3 separate regions of the Homo sapiens genome follow, and all the other regions are linked to region 1. The links are contacts of gene promoters, found by promoter capture Hi-C in blood cells and fetal thymus (Javierre and others, 2016). All regions are on one chromosome and are shown on one strand. Each heading gives the region's core, a stretch centred on a gene start or on the middle of the fragment in contact. The rest is flanking DNA. Distances are from core to core; before and after follow the strand shown.

Region 1 (3,032 bases), core at 192-2,691:
GCGGCCACGATCCCCCTCCCCGGGAACTGAACCTGCCTCTGTACTCCTTCTACTCCTTTGTTTGGTATTTTTCACATCATCGTGATCACCTGTTTCCAAATCTGATTCCCCCATGCTTGAGAGCTCCTTGATGGCTTGGGCATCAAATGTTTCTGTCCAGGTGGGCACACATACCTGGCTGCTGGGGCTCTCCCACCCCAGCGTCCCAGGTCCCAACTCTGATACGCACAGCACCCTAGGCAAGGTTCAGAGGTGCAGAGCCTAGGGGTTCTACCAAGGAAGCTAAATAGGTAGATGGAAAGGGACACTGTAGGCATAACCTGTCAACGAAGTCACACCTCTGAGACCTGCGCTGCCTCTGCAGGTGCAGGTGAGCTTGTTTGCCTGGCTGACTCTGCAGCGCAGGGCCTCCAGGGCACAGATTGCTGCTTCTTTCCTTACAAAAGCACCAGCAGTCAGATAAATAATACATGGCCTTCACCTCACCACAGGTATCAGGCATGCAAATACCTGCTTTGCCCCAAAATGCCCTGGAAAGGAGGGAGGAGTAAAACGTCTGGCCTTATACAACACCTCCAGAGGGGATATGTATTGGGAATCCATGCCCAACCCCCAGCATAACTGCCTTGCCTTGGCCTGGAGCCACCCAGCACTGGAGGTAAGTGGATCCAAGCGAGGTACCAAGGGTGTGCCCAGGAGGAAATGTACAATTCACGGGAAGGATACAGACACCCAAAACCAGTCTCCACGGTCCCTTTGGGGGCAAACATCTTTCGAGCCCCAGGTCCCAGTCGATCCCCTTCCAAACCTGCGGACCTGTGTGGCGGGCGTGTACACCCTCCACTCACGACGCAGCCCCGAAAGCCCCCCGCCGACCACCCTCCCAGGTCACTGCCACCCGCACAGGGCACGGACGCCTCCCCCACTCACTCGGCCGTGCCAGTCGCCAGCACACCCACCCGGGAGCACACAATCCCTCTTGCAAAGCGCCTTGGTCCATCCGCCTCCCTCTCCCGGGGCCGCCCCCCGGACAGGTCCGATTACACTCCAGGAGCTGCCCCCGCCACGTTGGCGTGGAAAGGGAGCGGGCACACCCACGGGCGACCTCGCGGGGCGGAGAGGAGGCACGGGTGGGGAGACGGATGCCCCCTCCCTCCGCGGCCGCACCGGCCTCCGTAGTGCCCTCCCCGCCCGGGAGCCGGCGGCCGAAGCCGGGCGTCCCTCGCGCGGGCCTCTCCGAAACAAGCAGCCCCCCGCGCTCGGGAGTCGCAGCTCCCCCTTGGGGCTCCCGGGCGAGGCCGGCCAGGCGGGATACCTCAGGAGCCCATGGCGGTGGCGGCGTCTGCGGACGATGCGCGGCAGCCGGACTCTGCGGGCGGGGCGGGCGGCGCCGCAGCCCCGGAGTCTCCGCCGCCGCCGGCGCGTCCCGGGCCCAGTGGAGTGCAGCCGCGGCGCGCATGCGCTCTGGGCTCGCCGCCGGGGAGGGCGGGGCGGCGGACGCGGCTGAGATCACTGCCTGGGCCTTAAAGGGGCCGCGCCCCGAACCCCAGCCCGCCGCCCCGAACCCCAGCCCGCCGCCCCGCGGGTTGGGGCGCGACCCGGGTTCTCTTGCCACTCACAAAACCAGCTACGACCGGCCCCCAACCGCGAGAGCTTTCTGGGCTGCGATCTCTGCCCCTGACCCTCGCTGGTGCTTCACTTCTTTTAACCCTAATTTCCTCCATTTGAGCCTGTTTTGAAGATGAAACGAAATACAATGGCTATTTGTTGAGTGAAGGATGCGTGTGGAATTGTGGAATGAACGTGGACCGAGTGTTGTGTGCAATTAGGCCAGATGAAATGGCAAAGCACTGAAAGAGGCCTTTTTTTCCCACTCCGCTTAGCAGCGATTCTTTCTTGCCCCGTCTGGCTCTAGGCTGCCGAACTAGCAAAAGTCTTCAGATAGGGTTCAAGCCGCCTAGTCCATTTCTGTTTGCCGGTCCAGACATCACCTAGGTTAACTGAACAAGATAAAATGCAATTAAGTTCTGGCATTGATGTGCTCAAGATCCCCAAATGTATTTATGTCTCCAGACTCCTCGCCTGAACTGTCTACCCAACACCTCTTCCTTGGAGCTCCAGCAGGCATCTCAAAGTCAGCGTGTCTGAGCTGAGCCAACCCCACTTCCACACACAAAAACCTGCTCCCTCTCAGCTTTGCCTCCATCAGCTGTTGACAATTCCATCCTTCCAGTCCCCAGGCCAGAACTCGGAGTCAGCTGTGAATGAATGCCCCCCTTCTGCCCGCTACCCAATAAGGCAGGCAGGAGATCCTGTTGGCTCTACCTGCAAAATAGATCTAGACTCAGATGTCTGCCACTCCTCCTCCAGTGCTACCACCCTGGTCCAGTATTTGCACAGGATTATTGCAGAGTTCTGCTAACCCCTCTCCCTTGTTCCAGCCTTGCCCTCTGATCCATTCTATCAATTCAGGGGTGAGGGAGATCCTTTTTTTTTTTTCTCTTTTTTCTTTTTGAGACAAAGTCTCGCTCTTTGTCTCAAAGTTGCCCAGGCTGGAGTGCAGTGGCGCGATCTCGGCTCACTGCAAGCTCCGCCTCCCGGGTTCACGCCATTCTCCTGCCTCAGCCTCCCGAGTAGCTGGGACTACAGGCGCCCGCCACCATGCCCAGCTAATTTTTTGTATTTTTAGTAGAGACGGGGTTTCACCGCGTTAGCCAGGATGGTCTTGATCTCCTGACCTTGTGATCCGCCTGCCTCGGCCTCCCAAAGTGCTGGGATTACAGGCGTGAGCCACCACGCCCAGCCAAGATTCTTTTAAAATCTGCCGGGCACGGTGGCTCACGCCTGTAATCCCAGCACTTTGTGAGGTCGGGTGGCTCATTTAAGGCCAGGAGTTACAGACCAGCCTGGCCAATATGGTGAAACCTTGTCTCTGCTAAAAATACAAAAATTAGCTGGGTGTGGTGGTACATGCCTGTAGTCCCAGCTACTCTGGAGGCATGAGAATTGCTTGAACCCGGGAGGCGGAGGTT
Region 2 (2,812 bases), core at 312-2,811, 190 kb before region 1:
GTCCCGGGGAGGCGGAGGGCCGGGCGGGGACACTGACCCGTGCCGTAGAGCATGGCTAGCATGATGGAGGACACCCAGGCCGTGTCGCTGTAGCCGGCGTCGAAGTCGCGCATGAGCGCGCGGAAGAAGACGCTCACGGCTTTGGGGAAGCCGTAGGCGAAGCCGGTGACCACAAAGCAGGCGCCCAGCACCACCCAGCCCCAGCCGCCGTCTGGGGGGCCCTCGCCCCGCCGGGGGCCGCCAGCGCCCATCGCTGCCTCTGTTGGGAGGGGGCGGGGACAAGAGGGAGGGGCTGGGCCAGCAGCCTAGAGAAGGAGGGGGATGGAGACGAAGCATGGGGAAACTGAGGCACAGGGCTACCCACGTGAGGGTGGCTCAGGTCTGGGAACCAAAAGGGGAAACGGAGGTAGGACTCTCACCCCAAGTCTCCTTCTCCTGCAAAGGGCGCTGAAGGACGAGGGGAGGACGACGGGTCCCACCTGACTCTGCACCTCTGCAGGCTCCCTCTGAAGGACAACTGCTGGCCCCTCAGGGCCTCAGGTGGAAGGCGTCGGGAAGTGGAGCAGGTATGTGCCTGGAGGTGGGCGTCCAGCACCAAAGTCGCCCCGTACGCGTGAGGGTCTCGGGACAACAGAACAAACAGCAGAGGGGCAGATGCCGGCTGCAAAGGGCCGCTGTGCGTGATTTTCCTCTTTAGCCTTCCGCCATGTTCCTAATGTTTCTCAGTGATCACAAATGACTATTGTCATTAGAACATTAAGGGGACAAAAGCCACTTTCAACAGATATCAGCCAGGGGAGCTGAGTTCCCATGCATCTCAGCTCAGCCATGGATTCCCTCCCTGACTTGGGCCGGTCGCCTCCCCTCTCCCAACCTCCCTTTCCTCCGATGTAAGATGGGTGATTGATCACCCCGAGGCCAGCTGGGAATCTTGCGGGAGAGGAGTCAGGTCTCTGGCTTCTGCCAGACAGGTAGGAACCTTAGCAGCACTGAGAGAGTGGCCTTCTGCCCTCCAAACCTCAAACCCTCTATATGAAAAGAATGGCTCCAAAGCCTGTCTCATTCCTGGGGCTCCACCCGGGGCCCTCACAGCAGTTACAAGCGCCCCCATAACAGATGAGGAGGGTGTACTCAGAGACAGGTGCACCAGGAGCCGGGGGCTGGGGATAGCCTCCTGCCCTCCTGCCTGGAGTGTCCCTCCTGGCACTGGGCAGTGCCACCACCCCCAGGGTATCCGGGACTCTGCCCCTCCTCCACTAGGACCAGGTTGTGGCTTTTCCTGCCTGTTGTCCTCTTGTCACAGGGGCAGCCACTTGAAGGTGGAGACAGGAGGGTGATCCCAGGCAGCCCTCACATCACACTCACCTGAGCCTGCCTCGTGGGTTTGGGGGTCCAGCCTCACATCTCCTGAGGCCTGCAGGGAGGGGCCGCCGCCGCAGCTCCCGGTGAAGCTTACCCGGATGGGGGCTGCCAGACACCCCAGCTTCCCACCAGCCTGGGCTGAGCCTCTGGCCGACTCCCGCCTGACGCTCCCTGCCCCAGGCCTGGAGCTTAGAGTGTGTGCCCCCACCACACCTCACCCCTGCTAAGAGGCTTTTGTCCAGGAGGGGAGAAGAGACTGGGAGCCCCAGGCCAGGCTGGGCCTCGGCGGTGGGCTCCCTGTCCCAAGCCAGTCCAGGAGGGAGGAAGAGAATCCCTGTGCCTCCTGGAGCCTGGGGTGGTAGACACAGAGACCTTGCCCAGGGGGTCCTAGTCTGGTGCTGGGGGCACAGCCCTGCCCTGAAGAGACCCCAACGGTTCTAATCACCTCAGTGCCTCATCTGCCCCCGCCCCAACCCCCCGCCCCAGGCCACATTCCAGGAGGGGCTGGCAGCTTTCTCTAGAATGAAGCTAATCCACGCCTGTGCCTGGGAATGTGGGGGGGGGAGGGGCCAAAACAAAGGGTGCTGTGTCCAGGCCGCCTGAGGGCAGCTTGCTGGTGGTCCCAGCCCTTGGCCACTGCCACCTCTCCCCTGACCCGAGCAGCCGCTACTTCCTAGGAAACCCACAGGTCGAAATGAGAGCAGGTGGAGATGGGGGCTGCAGCGCGAGGGCTTTGGGGCAGCCCTAAAGAGTTCTCCAAACAAACAAACAAGGGGCTGGGAGTGAGATGGCTTCCCGGGGAACAGCCAGGACCTCAGTACCCCCTAGACCCCATTCTCCAATGGGGGAGTCTCTATCCCTCACCCCCTGCCCTGTCCCCCAAATAAGACACCACCAGTCCTGCTGCCGCATCACTTTGCGTCCACTTCCTTTATTTCTCATCATTTACAAAAGATGTACAGAGAGGGCATGTGTTGGGCACGGAGCAGGTACAAGGGGCTCCTCCCCACGGGGGCAGAAAAGGGGGAAAGAGGTTAGGGGGCAAGAGGTGGGCCCCCCAGGGAGAGTCCTGGAGCCCCTGGAGGGGGAGAAATTGTCCTGTCCCCCCATTCCGCCTGCTTTACTTTGAAGGTCTCGGACCCCAAGCCAGTGCTTTGGAGCTGCTCAGGCTGCCGGGGTGGTCTGGGGAGGGCAGCCACCCCCCGTCTCAGGGACCCGCTTCTTGGATCTGCTGCTGTTGCTGCTGTCGCTGCCATTGCCAGCTCTGAACAGCCCCTGGGCAGGTGCACTGTGGGGTACGACCTCGGACCCCGCCTCAGCGGATGAGGGGTGCTGAGCGGTCATTGGTGATGGTGGGACGAAGCTTGACAGTGGCAAAAGGATTTGTGCCCCTGTAGGAGGAGAGAGAGAATGGGGTGAGAAGGGCAGATGATCCCCACCTGGCCATGGC
Region 3 (2,750 bases), core at 139-2,638, 210 kb before region 1:
AACTCCAAGAGCTGTGCATGTTCCAGCACAAAATGTTGTTTTGTCCAAGGGAGGGAGAGAAAAAGCTGGGCAGCCAGTGGAGCCCCTCAGGAGTTTTAGAGGGCCCACCCGCTCCAGTCATCCTTCTGCCAGGAGAGTCAGCCTAGCTTGCTTTCCTTTCTAGCGGAATCCCGACTGTGCCTGGGAAGGTGACCCTGCAGAAGGATGCTCAGAACCTGATCGGGATCAGCATTGGAGGAGGGGCCCAGTACTGTCCCTGCCTCTATATCGTCCAGGTATTGGGCGCTTTGGAGGGGGGCACAAGGTACATCCCTACTTGGGCATGACAAAGGCAGGTTCATTTCTCCACACTGCATAGCTGACTCCTTCTCATTCTTGAGGTCTGACCCTCTCAGAGGGGCTTTCTGACCACCTGCGCTGCGTTGCTCTGCCCTGTCTTCTCCCCTGTGTCGCTCTGTTTTTTTCCTTCTCGGCACTTATTACTTGTTATTTGCCCTCTGTCTAGTAGAGTAGACTCTTTGCACTGAGGGCAGTGTCCTGGTTTGCTTTTTCACTGCAGTAAGCACCAGGTACAGTGCCTGGCACATAGTGGACATGCAATAGAAATTGACTATTGAATCAACAAAACCATCAGCCTTGCGTACTAGCCAAAATGAAGTGTCATAGGAACACGATGAAATAATGGCCTGAGTTCAAATGCAAGCTTCTTTCCTACTTACTAGCAAGTTACTTAACCTCTTTGGGCCTCAGTTTCATCACCTAGAAAGCGGGGATTTAAAACATGTAGACACAATCATCTCTGGGTTCTTGTGAGAAGTCAACAAAACGACCTAACACACTAGAAGTTAAGAAACGTGCATTGGCCAGGCATAGTGGCTCACACCTGTAATCCCAGCACTTTGGGAGGCCGAGGTGGGTGGATCACGAGGTCAGGAGTTCGAGACCAGCCTGGCCAACATGGTGAAACCCCGTCTCTACTAAAATACAAAAATTAGCTGGGCGTGGTGGTGCACGCCTGTACTTCCAGCTACTTGGGAGGCTGAAGTAGGAGAATCGCTTGAACCTGGAAAGTAGAGGTTGCAGTGAGCTGAGATCACGCCACTGCATTCCGTGCATTCCAGCCTGGGTGACCGAGTGAGACCCTGTTTCAAAAAAAAGAAAGAACCATGCATTAAGCAGTAGCTGCTGCTATTTTCCAGGTAGCTGTACATTTTCCCAGATGCTCTGCCAGTGGTGAGGAACACTCTTGTGTCTCTTGCAGAGGAAGCTGCACTGGTGATATTCTGTCCACTGTAACTCAGGAGTGGTGACAGGCCTGCTGTGGGGCCTCCTTCACTGTGTGGCTCATCCAAGTCAGTGACCTTGCTGTAGCCTTGGGAATACCTGTTCTAACCCTCTCACTGGTGGCAGATGGGAAACTGGCCTCTGTGAGGATCTTGCTCAGGAGTCGCTTGTAGGCCTCGAAGACAGATTCCCAGGATCGACCTGGTCTTGCTTCTGCTCACAGTGCTGCCTCCTTCATGAGCCATTCGGCCTCCTGTGACCCAGGAGGCATTAGCAAGACCTCCCCCAGGCCTGGCCTCCTGGCCGTGTGTCTGCTCAGCCTCTCGCCACCTCCCTCTACCTACCTCAGGTGCAAGTTTGCTTAGAATGAACAGACATCATAAAATAGTATAATTGATTTTTTTTTTTTTTTGAGACAGAGTCTCACTGTGTTGCCCAGGCTGGAGTGCAGTGGCGTGATCTCAGCTCACTGCAACCTCTGCCTCCTGGATTCAAACGATTCTCATGCCTCAGCCTCCCGAGTAGCTGGTATTACAGGTGTGCGCCATCATGCCCAGCTAATTTTCGTATTTGTAGGAGAGAGAGGTTTTAGCTATGTTGGCCGGCCTGGTCTCGAACTCCTGGCCTCAAGCGATCCACCCACCTCAGCCTCCCAAAGTGCTAGGATTACAGGCATGAACCACCAGCCAATAAAATAATAGAACTGGCCGGGTGCGGTGGCTCACACCTGTAATCCCAGCACTTTGGGAGGCTGAGGTGGGCAGATCACCTGAGGTGAAAACTTCCAGACAAGCTTGGCCAACATGGTGAAACCCTGTCTCTACTAAAATACAAAAATTAGCCAGGCATGATGGCGGGTTCCTGTAATCCCAGCTACTTGGGAGGCTGAGACAGGAGAATCGCTTGAACCCGGGAGATGGTGGTTGCAGTAAGCCGAGATCGTGCCATTGCACTCCAGCCTGGGCAGTTGAGTGAGACTCCGTCTCAAAAATAATAATAATCATCATCATCATAGAATTGATTTTTTTAAATTCAATTTTGTTTTTATCAAAGTGCCATATGACTTGCCTCTACCAAGTCAAGAGCATTAAAAGCCCTGTATCAAATAATAGCAATCCACTGCCCTTCCCCTGGGCACCTCACCCGGCTTTCTCTGTCTCTTCATGCATGGGCTTCCATTTTTCTCAATAGTCTCACTCTGTCGCCCAGGCTGGAGTGCAGTGGTGCAAGCATGGGTCACTGCAGCCTTGATTTCCCCAGACTCAGATGATTCTCCCACTTGAGCCTCCAAGTAGCTGGGATTACAGGCACGTGCCACCAAACCTGGCTAATTTTTGTGTATTTTTTGTAGAGACGGTGTTTTGCCATGTTGCCCAGGCTTGTCTCAAACTCTTGGGTTCAAGTGATCCACCCGCCTCAGCCTCCCAAAGTGCTGGGATTACAGGCGTGAGCCACCGTGCTCAGCC

What was found. The method cuts DNA at HindIII sites, captures the fragments that hold promoters and counts their contacts. A CHiCAGO score of 5 or more calls a contact.
Region 2: the fragment with the promoter of SLC16A8 here is called in contact with the fragment with the promoter of TMEM184B in region 1 in 2 of 17 cell types (endothelial precursors and M0 macrophages); the score reaches 6.4 in endothelial precursors.
Region 3: a contact is called between a fragment that was not itself captured here and the fragment with the promoter of TMEM184B in region 1, in 2 of 17 cell types (M0 macrophages and M2 macrophages). The highest score is 5.8, in M0 macrophages.

The regions. Positions count from the first base shown.
Region 1 is chr22:38,271,569-38,274,600 of GRCh38, forward strand. It overlaps TMEM184B (transmembrane protein 184B), which reads right to left and starts at 1,442. Exons shown (of 9, transcript NM_012264.5): 1 at 1,316-1,442. RefSeq lists an enhancer at 193-902 and a silencer at 965-1,594. The HindIII fragment of the contact is 13,147 bases long and covers 1-3,032 here.
Region 2 is chr22:38,082,623-38,085,434 of GRCh38, forward strand. SLC16A8 (solute carrier family 16 member 8) reads right to left here and starts at 1,562. Exons shown (of 6, transcript NM_013356.3): 1 at 1,366-1,562; 2 at 420-739; 3 at 38-259. The coding sequence starts at 251. BAIAP2L2 (BAR/IMD domain containing adaptor protein 2 like 2) reads right to left here. Exons shown (of 14, transcript NM_025045.6): 14 at 2,278-2,753. The coding sequence ends at 2,678. RefSeq lists a silencer at 21-70 and an enhancer at 1,046-1,827. The HindIII fragment of the contact is 1,274 bases long and covers 1,450-2,723 here.
Region 3 is chr22:38,059,071-38,061,820 of GRCh38, forward strand. PICK1 (protein interacting with PRKCA 1) reads left to right here. Exons shown (of 13, transcript NM_012407.4): 3 at 164-275. Among named protein-coding and RNA genes, the nearest start is that of PICK1, 3.0 kb to the left of the region's middle. The HindIII fragment of the contact is 1,374 bases long and covers 702-2,075 here.